2 separate regions of the Homo sapiens genome follow, and region 1 is linked to region 2. Evidence: promoter capture Hi-C in 16 types of primary human blood cells and fetal thymus (Javierre and others, 2016). All regions are on one chromosome and are shown on one strand. The core of a region is centred on a gene start or on the middle of the fragment in contact, and the rest is flanking DNA. Distances in the headings are between cores, read along the strand shown. Region 1 overlaps ELAC2 (elaC ribonuclease Z 2). Region 2 holds the start of MAPK7 (mitogen-activated protein kinase 7).

Region 1 (2,700 bases), core at 6-2,505, 6.4 Mb after region 2:
TGGCACCGGGTAAAGACTGACACCAGCATTTTCTCTGCAGGCCTTTGAACTTTTGTGTTATTTCATATATTATATGTGTTATAAAGCACATTACAATATATTTTTCTCTGTCTTCTCCAGTCCTAGGTGAAATGTGTCATTTAAAAAAAATTTCACTTGCCATTCTAAAGTTTTTCTGGTGAGAGTTTTGTGTTTTTCATTTACGCAAACACATCTCCACATAAGTAGGGAAAAAAAGTCTTCTTGAGTATATTAGTGTCTTCAGCCTTTGTATTGGGACAGTAGCGTCCATTAATTTTTATGTGAAGTGAAATTAGGTATCGGGTCATAATCAGTCTGTGATGTCTTCACAGCTTTCACATTTACCTTGTGATAATCAAGTGTGTTTTTCCTCAGGTGTTAGCCAGAGAAGAGGGGTCAGGGACTCTTCCCTGGTCGTAGCTTTCATCTGTAAGGTAAGGAAGACTTTCCGGAGGGCTGTACATGACTGGGGTCTTGGTCAGCGACCTCTGGTTTGCACTTTTTCATTAATTTGAGGGTAGGCACTCCTGTTACCTGAGACAAGAAGAGATAGCAGATCTTCAGAAAAGCTGATGGAAGGCCGGGTGCAGTGGCTCACGCCTGTAATCCCAGCACTTTGGGAGTCCAAGGCAGGTGGATCACGAGGTCAGGAGTTTGAGAACAGCCTGACCAACGTGGTGAAACCCTGTCTGTACTAAAAATACAAAAATTAGCTGGGTGTGGTGGCGCATGCCTGTAATCCCAGCTACTTGAGAGGCCAAGGCAAGAGAATCGCTTGAACACAGGAGGCGGAGGTTGCAGTGAGTTGAGATTGCACCATTGCACTCCAGCCTGGGTGACAGAGCAAGACTCTCTCAAAGAAAAAAAAAATTCGATAGAAATGACACTGGCAATGAGCCTGCAACAAGTATTACTACTGACCTTTCATAATTGTCATCACTTGTAGGTTTCAGAGTTTAGATGCTCTGTTTCTCAAAATAACCCCATACTTTTATTTCCTTTTAAATTTTTTTCCAGTGCCCTGTCAGCCTCCGTACATTTTTTTTTTTTTTTTTTGAGACCATGTCTGTCTCCATCGCCTAGGCTGGAGTGTGCAGTGGCACAATCTCGGCTCACTGCAGCCTCCACCTCCCAGGTTCAAGTGATTCTCCTGCCTCAGCCTCCCAAGTAGCTAGGATTATAGGTGCGCGCCACCACACCCAGTTAATTTTTGTATTTTTAGTAGAGATGGGGTTTCACCATGTTGGCCAGGCTGGTTTCACTCCTGACCTCAGGTGATCCACCCACCTTGGCCTCCCAAAATGCTGGGATTACAGGCGTGAAGCACTGTGCCTGGTCCATATTCTTTTATATTTGCCAATGATTGGTCCTTTTAGAATTCAGAAATTATTGAAGGCAGCTGTGTTTGTTTTCCTTCAACTCCATCAGGCCTTTATTCAAAGTCTTTTAACTCTGTTTTACTTTATTTCATTCCCCTGCAATAGCTAAGGTCTAACACCAGATTAATTGGAATATTAGCTAGCATTCACAAAGGCCTAGATCTGTAACTCTGAAATTGGTCAAATTCCATTAAAAATTTTTGTTACAATAAGCTGTTTGTAAGATCTGACTAGTGGCTTATTTTTAATAGAATTTTGCATTAAAATTTTATCAATACAATTTGCAACAAATTTGTCTAAATATGTGAAAAGATTTCATTGCCTTTTTGTGGGCTTAGATTATTTTTTAATGTTGATTTTGAAATATATTTGGAATTGTTATCTAAATTCTAAAAGCTACAAGTGAAAATAATAATGAAAGTAAGTAGTTAATATTAGTGGCAAGATCATTGCCAGTATCATTTCTATCGATTTATTTGAATAATGTGATTTTCATAAAAGTTAAGTACTACTGTTAACAGGCTTATTACTTGTATGTTTCTGAGTTTTAGATAGCAAAATCATTTTTTAAAGTTTTAAAAATATTTTATTTTTGATAATCTATATTTATATTGTCTGATTTTTAAACTGTTTTCTATGGTAATCTTTAAATCGTATTCCTGCTTTCCGGAATAGGTAACAGTGAGCATGATGAAAAGTGACAAGCTCACTTTTACACACTCGGGCAGTTGCCCTATTATCAGGCAGCCGTTCCTGGGGGCTGCCAGCTGCCTGCCCTGGCTTTTCCATCTCCTTCCTTGCTGTCTTCTGCGGCTCCTTCTGAGGGCTGCTGTCACTGGATTAGCCTATAACGCCTTTCCCCTCTTCTAATTAATTTGCTGCTCTCAGGTGAGGTTTTGGAAAGCAATAAAGCTGAGCTAGGTCAAGTTCCAGGAGTCTCTTGGCATGAGGACCTGAAAAACTCATCTGTTGGAAGACCTCGGCTTTGGGCAGCTGGTGCACTGTTGGGGCGTTATTGGCTGCGTTCTGGCTCTCATCAGTCTTCCAGATACTCTGCATTCCTCAGAGAGGAACATATCTCCATGGGTTGAGTTCAGCTCCCAGGGAGATGGGTTTCCCTGCCTTAAGTCGGCAAGTACCTTTTTTTTTCTTTTTTTGAGACAGAGTCTCGCTCTGTCACCAGGCTGGAGTGCAGTGGTGCGATCTTGGCTCACTGCAACCTCTGCCTCCCAGGGTCAAGCAGTTCTCCTGCCTCAGCCTCCCGAGTAGCTGGGACTACAGGAGCGCACCACCATGCCCA
Region 2 (2,700 bases), core at 38-2,537:
GGCCTGAGGAGCAGGGAAAAGGGACATACCAGAGGATACCTTGGAGAAACTGCAGAGTCGACTCAGCCCCTATCAACACCTCCCTTCTAGGATGCAAATGACAACAGCTACCAAGTATTGGGTACCTACTATGTGCCAAGCCCTGTGCTAAGCATGTTACCTACATTATTAAATGTTACCTTCACAACTCCCCTGCGGGGCAGGTCCCAATAGGTCAACGTTAAAGAGAAGGAAATATGGCTTAGTAACTTGTTGGAGGTTGCACGGATGCCCAGTGGTGTAGCTCAGCCTCTTATGCCTACACCCTCTCCATCTCAGACCTCACCCATCCCACCACCAGTTCCTTATGCCAGTGTCTGGCTCCAGAACACATTTCTCTCTTAGACACGAAGGACTGGCTCTCCATTCTGGTCTAACTGGGACTATCATTTTCCTAAGGAGGAAGTAGGCAGGCAGGATGGCAAAACCACCAGGCCGGAGTTTCAGAGAACCGAGCCTCCCCGGAGCCTGGCAGGCAGAAGGCCCTGGTCAGTGTGTGTTGACTGGAGCCAGAACTCGCACCCCGCTTTCCTTCCCGGCTGTCTGGGACAGGCCGGTTTCCCACTCCCTGCGACGCTGCCACATCTGGGAGGCGACGGCTCAGGAAGCTCACCGGTGAGGCGGCGGCGGGCGGAGGACACCACTCCATAGGCCCCGTTGCCTATGGTCTCGATGATCTCGTACTCGTCGCCCACGTCAAAGGTCACATCGAAGGAGCGGGCTTTAAGCAGGGCCAGGTTCTTGGCCGCTACAGAGGCAGCGGTGTGGGCGGGTTCGGCCTTCACGGGCCCGGGGGGCTCCGCAGAGCCGTCCTCGCCGTCTTCCTCCTTCAGAGGCTCGGCCATGGTGTCTGTGTGGAGACTCGGGTGAGGAGAGGACCACCTACCGTGGGCCTCAGTGTCCCCTCTGCGGGCTGGGGAGCAGGACCAGGGAACTTCCCAGTTTCCTAAACCGACAAGGGCAGAAGCGCGCGGCTGGTTCGTGGCAGACTAGCTACCCCAGGGGTCCGGGCCCAGAGCCGGGGGCCCGCCAGGGTCGGGGGAGGGGTAGGCGAGGCGCGGGCCAGGAAGAAAGGGAGGGGCGGGGCACCTGGGTTTCCTCAGGGCCGCACTCACCCCCGCGCCTCCTCAAGGCTTTCAGAGGTCCCGAGGCTCGCCGGCCTCCCGTCCCCAGCGCGGGGGTCTCCGAGGGTGGCTCACTTACTTGTTCAAAGGCCGCAGCCACCACCTCAGCGTCTTGAGCTGCCCTGTCCGTCCCCCTCCGCCCCGCCTCCCAAGGCCACGCTCCCTCCAGCTCCTGGCCAATCGCTGAGCTACTGCTGCGGAGGGTCCTGCCCCTTCTACCTACTGCGTCCAATCCTAGCCCACCGGCCGAGAAAGCCACGCCTGGCGCGCGCCGCTGTCCAGCTCGCCGGCGGGAGCCGCCCAAAGGGTGCCCGGCACTTCGCAGGGGTGTGCTCCCCGCCCTGCACCGCCTTCAAACGCATGCGCACTGGCAGTCGGGCGCCAAGTGAATGGAAGGCAACGCCCCTGCACGTAGCGCGCGCGTCCCCATGAAGCTCTCAACCTCATCCGGCCAATCACAGCTAGTCCCGTGAGCTCGGGGAACTGCCCGGCCTGAGATGCCCAGGTCTGGGACTGTTACCTTGGCTACTGGCTCCCGAAGTCCCCTTCCGCCCAGGGAATTGTGTCCGCCATTTGCTTGGTCCCAGGAGCTCTGGGAATGTGTCATCCCCGGTAGAGGGTGCCCGTCACGGCCAACCACAGAGATCCCGGTCCTCCGGGATTCTAGAGCGTCCGGCCGAACCCTCCACTGACTTCCGGTGGCTGAGCCTCTCCGCAGCTTCCGGCCAAGTTGGACTGCAGCTCGCGGTTTCCTGGCTTCTAGGTATCTTCCCTCCGCTCGTTTGTCTGTCCCGCGATTCCCGTGCTTTGGGCTGCAGCGGAGTTAACCGAGGCGGCCGCCCAACCTCTGCTCCTCTGCGGAGCCCGCGGGTGGGCGGAGCCCTCGCTGGAACCGAGCTGTCCCGACCCACCCCAAAATCCGATAGTTTATTCGTTCATTCATGTAGCAAATGTTTATGGAGCACCGCCCCTCTAAGGCTCAGTGCCGGGAGGCGAAGGTGGACATGGTGGATACTGTGAGCTGGAAGGAAAGGTTTTCTAAAGGGAGCTCGAGGTAGGGCCGAAAAGAAGTGAAGAATTTTGGTTTCACTCCTAGGCGGCTTCTAGAAAAAAGCAATATGTATGCATATTCGTACCTACCTCCCCTTTGGTGTACAAAAATGTAGCATATTATGCTCTTTTCCTGAAGATCATTCCATATCAATAACTGGAGGGGTCCCTCACTTTTAAACAACTTTTAATAACATACCATAAAACTCATCCTTTTATAGTGTACAATTCAGTGTTTTTTGGTATATTCACAGTTGAGCAGCCATCATCACTACCTAATTTTAGGTAGAGTGGTTTATGGAACATTTTCATCGCCCCTAAAAGAAACCTATGTGAACCAAGTATCTGAGACAAGTCTCAAGTCAATTTAGAAAGTTTATTTTGCCAATGTTAAGGACATGGTGGTGACAGCCTCAGGAGGTCCTACAACATGTGCCCAAGATGGTCGGGGCATAGTCAGCCTTTATACATTTCAGGAAGACATAAT

What was found. Contacts are between HindIII fragments. The CHiCAGO score rates a contact against its expected background, and 5 or more counts as called.
Region 1: a contact is called between a fragment that was not itself captured here and the fragment with the promoter of MAPK7 in region 2, in 1 of 17 cell types (neutrophils). The highest score is 10.6, in neutrophils.

What each region holds. Positions count from the first base shown.
Region 1 is chr17:13,008,368-13,011,067 of GRCh38, reverse strand. It overlaps ELAC2 (elaC ribonuclease Z 2), which reads left to right. Exons shown (of 24, transcript NM_018127.7): 8 at 397-455. Among named protein-coding and RNA genes, the nearest start is that of ELAC2, 8.3 kb to the left of the region's middle. The HindIII fragment of the contact is 9,574 bases long and covers 1-2,700 here.
Region 2 is chr17:19,377,085-19,379,784 of GRCh38, reverse strand. MAPK7 (mitogen-activated protein kinase 7) reads right to left here and starts at 1,287. Exons shown (of 7, transcript NM_002749.4): 1 at 1,155-1,287; 2 at 653-889; 3 at 1-3. The coding sequence starts at 884. It also overlaps a transcript of B9D1 not described here. RefSeq lists silencers at 1,062-1,321, 1,392-1,451, 2,162-2,211 and an enhancer at 1,662-1,891. The HindIII fragment of the contact is 26,192 bases long and covers 1-2,700 here.